3 separate regions of the Homo sapiens genome follow, and regions 1 and 3 are each linked to region 2. Evidence: promoter capture Hi-C in 16 types of primary human blood cells and fetal thymus (Javierre and others, 2016). All regions are on one chromosome and are shown on one strand. Each heading gives the region's core, a stretch centred on a gene start or on the middle of the fragment in contact. The rest is flanking DNA. Distances are from core to core; before and after follow the strand shown.

The links. The method cuts DNA at HindIII sites, captures the fragments that hold promoters and counts their contacts. A CHiCAGO score of 5 or more calls a contact.
Region 1: a fragment that was not itself captured here is called in contact with the fragment with the promoter of GFI1 in region 2 in 2 of 17 cell types (fetal thymus and megakaryocytes); the score reaches 8.5 in fetal thymus.
Region 3: a contact is called between the fragment with the promoter of EPHX4 here and the fragment with the promoter of GFI1 in region 2, in 1 of 17 cell types (fetal thymus). The highest score is 6.7, in fetal thymus.

Annotation. Positions count from the first base shown.
Region 1 is chr1:91,996,286-91,999,952 of GRCh38, forward strand. All of the region lies in intron 15 of BRDT (bromodomain testis associated), which reads left to right. Among named protein-coding and RNA genes, the nearest start is that of EPHX4, 32 kb to the right of the region's middle. The HindIII fragment of the contact is 872 bases long and covers 946-1,817 here.
Region 2 is chr1:92,485,256-92,488,625 of GRCh38, forward strand. GFI1 (growth factor independent 1 transcriptional repressor) reads right to left here and starts at 1,670. Exons shown (of 7, transcript NM_005263.5): 1 at 1,471-1,670. RefSeq lists silencers at 247-426, 627-676, 1,297-1,406, 1,497-1,706 and enhancers at 254-854, 777-926, 1,827-1,876. The HindIII fragment of the contact is 3,142 bases long and covers 892-3,370 here.
Region 3 is chr1:92,028,724-92,032,152 of GRCh38, forward strand. It overlaps EPHX4 (epoxide hydrolase 4), which reads left to right and starts at 1,262. Exons shown (of 7, transcript NM_173567.5): 1 at 1,262-1,587. The coding sequence starts at 1,357. LOC124904218 (a long non-coding RNA gene) reads right to left here and starts at 1,664. Exons shown (of 2, transcript XR_007066222.1): 1 at 642-1,664. RefSeq lists an enhancer at 961-1,462. The HindIII fragment of the contact is 12,008 bases long and covers 1-2,228 here.

The DNA.
Region 1 (3,667 bases), core at 132-2,631, 490 kb before region 2:
TTGCCCAGGCTGGAGTGTAGTAGCACAACCTCTGCTCACCGCAACCTCTGCCTCCCGGGTTCAAGCAATTCTCATGCCTCAGCCACCCAAGTAGTTGGGATTACAGGCATGCACCACCATATGCGGCTAATTTTTGTACTTTTTGTAGAGACGATTTCACCATGTTGGCCAGGCTGGTCTTGAACTCCTGGACTCAAGTGATCCACCCACCTTGGCCTCCCAAAGTTCTGGGATTACAGGCGTGAGCCACCACACCCAGCCCCAGGTTTTATAATAGGGAAAAAATTGCTGCTTACCATGTAGAGGATGGATTAAGATGATGCTCTGATGTAGTTAGGATTAAGTAAGGACACTGAATGCTGTAGTCTAGGAAATAAATTATTAGGACCAAAACTAACACAGCAACTGTAGAAAGCATGTGGATATATAAGGTATTTTTGTGGCAGAATTGATATACTTCGTTAGGATGAATGAGCTACTGGGAGATTATCTAATAGTTGGATTGAAAACAGGGGACAGAACTCATTTGGCACATGTTTGAGATGTTACAGAATATCTAAGTGGAAATATAAAGCTAGAAATAGGTTTCTAGAACTAACAGGGTGTAACAGGAATTAGAAATTAGGAATTAACAGTATGTAGAAGCTACTTGAAGCCATAAGAATAAATGAAAACACCCAGGAAAATCTGCAGAGCAGGAAGAGAAAAGCTTAAAGACAAAATTCTAAGAAACAAAACCTCCTCAGTAAAAGTAGAAAAAAATAGTTAAAAGAAGAGGTAATCAATGGTAGAGAAAAAGAAAAAATAGTGTAATAAAAGCCCAGGAAGATAGATTTTTTTTTTAGAAGGAAATCAAAAGTATCACATACTGCAGAGCATTTAAGTAGGATGAGGAATGGAGAGAGAGCATTACATTGGGAATGTGAGAATTTTTACTTTTGCGGAAGCTTTTTTAGTACCTGTTGTGATGGGGCAGAAACCAGATTGTTGTAAATTGAGAAGTAATGGAATTTGAGTGTAGTGAATGTAAAGCATTCTTTGAAGAACTTTGTTGGTAAAGAGGATGGAAAGATATTTGTGGCTTTAACAGGAAAATAGATTTTTTGGAGGAGTGGGCAAGATTATTTTGAGTTTTTTAATTGGAGGGATTTGAACATTTGAAGGCTCATTATAAAGAGCTAAAGTAGGAAAAAGTTACTCTTTTAACTAGAGTATGTTTTATAAGAATGCTAGGGTAGCCTTGCCCTTGAAAAGGAATAGATTATGAAAAACAAAGGTGAGAATGTAGTCAAGGTGTTCTCTTATTCCTAATTTAAGAAAACACCCTATCTATGAAAAGTCAGGCTTTTAATACCTACACCTTCAGTAAGGATCAGTTTATTATATTACTTGAAATTCTGTTTATATGATGCCTATTAGTAAGCTAATATATAAAGGAAAGTTTGGATGATGCCAGAGTAGCTGTTCTTTTGCAGTTAGCAAGATTCTCAGAAACAACATGGTTTACATTTGCCAACTGTAGGTGGCACTATGCCCAAGGGAAATTGCAAATGTATGTGAGCCATAAAATTTATAGAGACATTTTCTTTTTCTGGAGTTAAATCTCAATAGAAATAAATTTTTTGTTAAACCTTACAATTAAATGATAAAAGCAATATGTTGAAGTTTTCTTATTGGAAAAATAGTTTGACAAAATGTTAGAGTACATAAAAGATTAAAAAATGAATTTTTAAGTGTTACTGGTTTTCATCACACCTGCCCACATATGATCTCCACATGAAATGGACAATGTTGAATTTTTTTTCCTTATAAGTTGAAGCTTTTAGCCATACCCTTATCCTTATAGTTTACCCTTTCCCCTTCTCATAAAAACTTCACTAAATTGCCGCCATGAAAAGGGATGAGTTCATGTCCTTTGCAGGGACATGGATGAAGCTGGAAACCATCATCCTCAGCAAACTAATACAAGAACAGAAAACCAAACACTGCATGTTCTCACTCATAAGTGGGAGTTGAACACTGAGAGCACATGGACACAGGGAGGGGAACATCACACACTGGGGCCTGTTGGGGGATGGGGGGCTAGCAGAGGGGTAGCATTAGGAAAAATACCTAATGTAGATGACAGGTTGATGGGTACAGCAAACCACTATGGCACGTGTAACAAACCTGCACATTCTGCGCATGTATCCCAGAACTTAAAGTATAATAAAAAAATTTTTTTAAACTTCACCAAATTATATTGAGTTTTTAAAATATTTAGGCTGTTATATAAACATGAATTCATAATTGCAAATGAAAAAGTAAATCCAGGAGTTTGCTATCTCATAGGAGAAATAAACAACTGGTATATAAAGTAAAAATAATGTGCCCTGAAAGAACCTAAAGTGAAGTTTAAGGAGGTGAAGAAGGCAGAATCACCTGATGTGTTTGGCAGATACATATTTTACAGAATGAGTATCATTTGAGCTGGATAGTGCAGAAAAAAAATAAGGCTTACCTATGTTTATTTAGTATGGAAAGGCATTTGGATGGAGGAAGCAACATGAATGTGAAGGTATTTAGGCAACTCATAATTCCATGTGATTAAAGATTTGGTTGGATTAAACAGGAATGTGGAAAATTACAAAGGTAGACCAGGTTTAGATCATTTAACCCTTTAGATACTTTGGACTTAATTATAATAGCATAGTCAGTGGGGAGGCAATGAAGGTTTTTTTGAGTGAAGGTGTGCCTCTGAGTGATTAATTTGCCAATATTATTTAGGTGAGTTGAAGGAAAGGAGAATATAGAGACCAGAGAAGGGAAGGAGACCAGCTGGGCTGTTGCAGTAGTAGGGAAAAAATGACATAAAGTGATAGAAGGAAAGAGAAGGGGAAAGTTAAAAGAAATTGCAAGAGTAGAATGGGCAGGTCTGCAAAATATGAAAACATGCTGGGTTAATAACCCAGGGATATAAGCTTCGGTGGCTCACAGGATACTGGCTGGATACTGTCCAGGTTGACAGACCCGGGACACAAGATGAAGAATAGGCTTCTGAGGAAAGATGAGTTTTGTAGTCTTTTGAGGTATCACAGGGTCATTCATGTAAAAATATTTTTCAGAGAGTTGGACCCTTGACATACTTCCTAGGCTTTTATGACACCTCTCTTAACAATCCCATCTGTCTGTTCCTTACAGATATCTCTTTATTTGCCTCCCTTTAGATGTTGATAATTCTCTGAATTGCATCCTTAAGCCTCTCTGTTTTTTTCATCTACCCCAGAATTTCCCAACCATGTTTCAAAGCACAGTCTTACTGAATGAATGTCCCCTCAGCTCTTATAGCAATGAGCTGGGAGCAGCCTTTCCATTTATGCAGGTGGCCATACATTGATCATTTTCTATATATCATGACATGGAAAAGGTTGGAAGCAGTGCTCTATACTTGGGTGATCTTTGGCATCCATGACTTCTAGTCTCATTTTTACAATTCAAATGTATCCAGGCCCCAGGCATGTTTATACAACTCTACTAAATGTCTTTACTTAAACATCACATAGGCATTCCAAACACAGCCATGTAAAAACTGAATTCCCCCTTTTAGTCCTCAGATTGTATTTATTTTTTTGAGACAGTCTGCCTGTGTTGCTCAGGCTGGAGTACAGTGGCGCAAATATGGCTCACT
Region 2 (3,370 bases), core at 420-2,919:
CACTTCTCGTCCGTACAATTAGACGCCACAAACCCCAAACCCAATTCTTTAAACAGCCACGAAACTCGGAAGAAAAGAAAAACGGAGTGGCGTTGTCCCGAGGGTCCCGCTGCAGCTTGGACCCACGTTGGCTGGGAGCGGGACAGATGGGGGCGGGGTAACTGTCAGCGCCGGAGCTGGGTCTGGGCTGGCGCCACCAGAGACCAGGCGGACGCGGAGGCCGCCTCCCCACCCGGGCTGTAAGCCCACGCCTCTCTCGCACCCCGGCCCGCTTTGCTGGTTCCTGTGGGGAGCGACAGAGTTTGGAGGAGATAGGGGCCCCGGGGCCTGGGCCGAGCGCGTGGGAAGGCAACCCCGCGCTGCAGCTGGCGCGGGAGGTGGGGCGGCCCCTCCGCGCGCTCAGGCCTCTCCTCACCGTCCGGGCCCAGGAAGGAGGGAGCCGAGGGCGCTAAGGGGGCGTCCTCCCGAGCGCAGCTGCCGCCGCCTCCCCACCAGATGTTTCCTTCCCTGGTGGATTTGGCTCCCCTGCCGAACCACCAGACCGCCTGCTGCGCGCCCCCAGCTCCAGATTTCCAGTCACACTGCGCGGGTCGCGCCCTAACCCAGCTGCCGGAGCTCTCTGGGCTCCCGCACGGCGGTCCGCAGCAGGTGGGAAACCGCCCGCGCCCTCTGATCGCCCCCGCAGTGCCAGTGCTCTGCGAGTCCCCGCGGCCGCCCCCACCAGGGCAGGAGGCGCAGAACAGGCTCGGCGGACCTACCTGCGGAGTCACGGCGCGGGCACCGCGCTAGGAGAGTTTTCAAACGGAATCTTGCTTTCGGGAGAGACCGCTCTATCTCTCTGACTTAAAAAAAAAAAAAATTCTCCTTCCGAGCTCAGCCCCCAAAACCACAAGCTTCACTTCCTGAGCGTTACTGAGTCGCTCGCATAGCCCTCCCAGACCTGCTCCCAACCCCCGTCGGGCGGCCGGGCGCGCTCCTTTGCGCAAGTGGCCAGGCGGTGGGGGGCCTGGCCTTTCCAGCCCGTCCCGCGCGCCCCTTAGTAGTCCTCCCAGTTCTCTCCCTGTGGGTCGGCAGGGGATGGGGGAAATTGGAGGTCCGGACACTTAGGCACTAGAAATGACTTGAAAGAAAATGAACTATTCTTGGCTCCAGGGAGACTTCCGCAGCGAGAGAAGCCACAGATTGAGGACACAGATTGACTGGCGAGAGAGGGGTGGGGGGCGCCCCGCTCCGAGGACCCTCCCCGCCCCTCAGGCCTCGGTCACCCGCCCCCCCCACCCCCGACCCCGCCGCCTCCTAGGGCTGCACCACCCCCGGGTCGGGACCGTGAATCACCGGCCCGCGGTGCCGCCGGCCTGGAGCCCGGCGAGTGGCCACGGCGTCCGCAGAGCGAAACCTGCCCCGCAGGCCCCGAAATAGCTTGTTGTGGAAACACTTGGGGATAAATACGCCCAACGAGGCTGAAAATACCTTGACACCCAATCCGAGAGGTTTGCTCATTTCCCTTCGGATTTAGGTAATGGTTAAATTTGGAAGAGGTGGGCGAGCGCCGAGCCCCCGGCGGAGAGGGCCCTGGCGGCGCGTCCCGCGGGCGCCCGGCGGGACCGGTGGGCGCACCCTCCCTGCGCGGAGCTCGCCGGCTCTCGACCGGGTCCGCTCAGCCTTCGACTAATTTCCGGTGGTCGGAGCTGCAAAATTAAAGGCCGCGCGGGGGCAGCGCCGGCGGCTGCTAGGCTGACTCCGCCCTGCCGGGGCAAGCCAGGGAGAGCGGGACCTCGCACGCGGGCTCTGCCACCGCCTGAGGTCATACCCAGGCACTGGGTGTTGGCGGGAGCAGTAAAGCGCCATAAAAGCACCACTTGGATGACTATTGCAAAGTAAGCCTTCTTCGCTCGGATTCTATGTTTCATGAGGGTAGGCACTGGATCTTCATCTTTATGTCCTAGGCGGGCTCTTAACAAAAGGCTGTGGACTGAGTAAATGAATGAGTGGGGTTAATTAACTAATTAATTATATTAATAGAACAGGGGGAAAAAACTTAAAACCTAACTCATAGATACATGAACAAATGCAGCAACCTCCAACGCTAGACTGTATGCCATGACCCATAGTGTGTGGCCTGCTGTGTATACTCAAAGCCTACACCCTTTGCTCATTGGAGTGGATGGATGTTGTAGTCATGTTACTTTTCAAAATGAATTGACTTGGATTTTGATCACAACTTCGTGCACAATAGGCCTCCAATGTCAGACATGCACAAGGAGAAGAGAGTGGTGCTCCCCAGTTCTTGCAAAATAACTACCATGTTCTAGGTTAATCTTAAATTGTTATGGGGGGGGAAGCCCTTAAAGCTCTTTTTCTAGAAACAGTTTTTAAATTATTCTTATTTTGCACTGTAAATTTAAAATTTTGCAGGGAATATTTGGTTAGTATAGCAGTGCTTCGAGCATGTATTAATAAATTATACGTTTTGTTAAGCAATGACCTGTGCCCCTATTGTATGCCAGGCGCTGGGCAAATCTTGTCTGCCTAGCTGTCCTCCTTCATTTGCTCAACACATCCCTTCTTTATATATAAATGCAGAGGCAAGCAATTTTGGTCAGAAAGGAAAATTAAGGACATTTTGTTAATATTTTATTTCTTGTGTGCTTTGTCCTGGCCTAAGGTATAAAAATCTCACAGTAGTGCAAAAACAAATCTTTCCCTTATTCCCTTCTCTCCTACTCGATAGCAGAAAAAAACAAATTTTTAGAATAAAATTATAAATGGGACAAAATAAAATTTCTTATCAACCAAGTTCTAGAGAAATGGTTGGACTATTTCCTTTGCATATTAGCAAGTTCAAAGTCAAAATTTCTCGAAAAGGTGCTGTGACTATTTTATAGTTTAGTTGAGTGTTGCTGTTTGAAGTCTCAGAAAACTTGAGGGAGCCCATGAAGGGGGCAGATAAGCACCTTGAGCAGTGAGCAGTATCACCTTAGAATAAATCCCTTTCATTCAGATTTAGTCTAGTCATTTTGCTTTTCATTTGCCCTTCACAGACTCTTGGGATTTCTGAGTTTGAAAAAGAAAACTGAGAACTGGAACAGGGACACGCAGAAAGGAGCAGGTGGGAGGGAGATGGCACTGAATTTCCCTTTATGTCTTTTACATGTTGAACCATGTGTATGTAGTACTAACTCAAATAAATAAATACACATTTAAAAAGTATTTAACAAGTATTCAACACGTTTAAAAAGTATTTAACAATACTTTTTAACAACACAACACTCCCGGGTGTATAGTGTTGAAGTGTGACTCCCACACTTGGGGAAGAATAGGAGAAAGGTAAGAAGAGGGGAACCCAGAGAGGTTAAGAACCTTGCCAAGG
Region 3 (3,429 bases), core at 12-2,511, 460 kb before region 2:
TAAGTTCCTAACTCAAGACCCTAGAAAAAAAGAGCAAAATACAGTTAACCCTCAAACAACATGTGTTTGAACTGTGTAGGTCCACTTACACATGGATTTTCTTCCACCTCTTCCCTCCCCCTCACCCCAAGACAGGAAGATCAACCTCCCTTCTTCTTTCTCCTCCTCAGCTTACCTAACCTGATGATGACAAGGATGAACACTCTTAAGATAATCCACTTCCACTTAATGAATAGTAAATGTATTTTCTCTTCCTTATGATTTTAACATTTTTCTTAATTATAAAGATACAGTATGTAATACATAAACATATGTTAATTGTTTTGGTCAGTAGTAGGCTATTAGTACTTAAGTTTGGGGGAACTCAAAAGTTATACATGGATTTTCAGATGTGAAAGGGTTCAGCAACCCTAACCCCCCGCATTGTTCAAAGGTCAATTGTATAACTCACACATGCTGAAGTAAATTCAAAATTGTACAGCCACTTTGGAAACCAGTTTGACAGTTTCTCATAAAAAATGAACACTTAATACCTGACCCGGTGATTGGGAAAAGGCTTAATGAAATTCTAACAGTGAACTGGACGATAGAAGAGGTCAGGACAAGAGTGGCCATGTCGGTGCTGAGGCTGAGATACCTACCGAGGACTGTCACTCTCACGGCTTCCAGCCCTTCGACGAACTCTCAGGTGTGTGGCCTTCTGGCCAGGCTTCTGCCGCGTCACGTTGTTGAAGCATTCGTTGTATCCCTGGGGTTGCAGCTCTCTGTAAGTTTGCTGTGGCTGAACCAGGCAAGGCATAGGCGGATTTCTACAGAAATTATGATTCCACGAAAGATTTTGAGAAGAGGAAGGCTGGTATCTTTCAGAGTGCAGAGTGATTTTGCACTCTAAAGAATCTCTTTGGGTGTAATAGCATGGAAGTTTGTCGCTGACCTGTGTCCCTGAACTATGACACACGAATATGTGGGCTTAGAAATAGTTTTGCTTGATACATTGAGAACAACAAAGAAGACTGAGTGGCGCTACCTTCTTTGGTGCCCAGGATGGTTTGGGAAAGTCTCGCCTTCATCCTCCCCCACAGTTTTGCGATTTTGAAACGGGATCTCGCTCTCCGCGGAAGACAGCCAAGCTCTGCACCCCGGCCTGGCCCGCCGCACCCCGCAGGCCCGGCTCTCCCCTGCGCGCTCCGGGCTGGGCGCGGCGCGTGTGCGGAGCCGCCGCGGTGACACGGAACGCCGGCCGCCCCGGGCCGGGGGAGGCGCGCGTCGAGAGGCGACGGCGGGCTGGCCTGGCGCGCTGCGGCGCTCGCTCACCCGCTCCCGAGGAAGGGCAGTGGGCCCCGCCGCCGCCTCCCAATGGCGAGGCTGCGGGATTGCCTGCCCCGCCTGATGCTCACGCTCCGGTCCCTGCTCTTCTGGTCCCTGGTCTACTGCTACTGCGGGCTCTGCGCCTCCATCCACCTGCTCAAACTTTTGTGGAGCCTCGGCAAGGGGCCGGCGCAGACCTTCCGGCGGCCCGCCCGGGAGCACCCTCCCGCGTGCCTGAGCGACCCCTCCTTGGGCACCCACTGCTACGTGCGGATCAAGGTGAAGGGCCGCGCGGGCCTGGCGGGAGCGGGAGGGAGCGTGACCGCCGCGAGGGTGGGGGGCTCCGGGCTTCTCCTTCCGAGACGCTGGCTCAGCGTCCCCTAGTGTCCTGGCAGGAGGGGAGGAGGGGTTGGGTCCCTGTGTGTCGTGTGTGTGTGTGTGTGTGTGTGTGTGTGAGAGAGAGAGAGAGAGAGAGAGATACAGATAAACAGCACTCGGTCTTTGCAGGCACCTTGATTGGTTTCTGAATGTGGAACTTCTCTAATCAGGGGCCTCTTATATTACTGCCCCCCGGCGCCACAACAACCCAGAATAAACCTGCTCTTTTTCCTACTGCAAGGGGAAGCTGTCTCCTGTCACCCTTTTGCCCTTTAGAGCTCAGATCAGCTGTAGAGAATTGTTCCTCGTGGCATCCTAATGTCTCAGGAGGCTGTTCTTGCCCAATTTTAGAGATAATAAGAGTAAACAGTCAGTCTTTGGGAGTCATGAGTTTATTATGATCACAGACGACTTAGGTTGCATGAAACAATAAGTAAATTGTGTGTGTTGTGGGGAGGAATGCATACTTATGAAGTCAGGGACCAAAGAAAGGAATGGAATAAAAGGTAAATCCAGCCATGCCTGCAGACGCTAATTGTTCAAGCTTCCTCACAGCCCACAAATATTCTGTTTCCTGAGGCTCCAGGTGGTGAAGGGAAATAGTTCCCGTGATACACCCTGCAGTCTGACTCACAGGCCTTTCAAACCCAGCCTCATAAGAGGGGATGTTTATGTCACCAAGTCCTTATTTCCTGTTAGGAGCTAAATTGCCCCGCAGCTGAAGTTCAGAAGGGCAAGAGAACTTCTTTCTTGCCTGGGGTCGACATGAGAATTAAATAGGTTAATATTTATAAAAACAAACACGAAAAACTTAGAACAATGCCTGATGCATAGTCAGTGCAATAAAGTATCTGTTAATTAAATCCATTGCAGTGCCCATAACATTTAATCCTCCAAGACTCACCACCAATAAAAAAAGTTATTGAACCTCTAGGAAGCCATCGTGCAGCTGAGGGTAAAGTCAGATTTGTTATCTCTGTTCAACCTGAGGGGTAAAAGTAGTATAAGAACCATCTGGAATTCCATAAAACACTTTTCCCCTCGCTCTGGCCGCCTAAAGAGCTTCCCCAGAGACAGAGAACCGAGTGGAAAGAGCATTGTCCTGGGAGTTAGGACAAGATGGAGATTCTGGTCACAGCCCTGCTCTCAACCATTTTATGACTCATGTTACCATCTTTGGGCCTCATCTTCTGAATCTGCAAAATGATTCTTTCACATCTGAAAACTCAGTTGCTTGAGTTGCCTGCTATAAAAACCCAATGTCTGTGTTTAGCTTTTGGTTCTTTTTGTTTCCTAGCTTGCTTGCTTTCAGAGATTTTTATTCCTGCTGTTCCCTCTACTTTCCTCAATTCAGCCTGCTTAGTATTTGCTTGAATTCCTGACTCATTCCCATGTTTTTTTAATTTTCCTTGGGTTTTCTTGTCTCCTACATGCAGAGTGAAGTCTTGAGCACTCAGGGCATTCTCTTATTAGAAACGCACACTGACATGACATGAGCAGGCAGCAAGGGGAACAGAACATGCAACACTCAAAATAATAATGTGGGAAGGAGAGACCTAAAAATAAGAGAAGGAGGTGTGAATTATATAACTGATGGCACAGCTCTTGACGGGCAAGCTGAGAAAAGTAGATGACTAGGATGTAAACATGGCAGAAATATAAATTCAGATTAGAATTATTTACATGTCCTGCAGCATTTGAGGGAGATGAAATGTGACACATCAGTAAGATGAAAGTTACAAA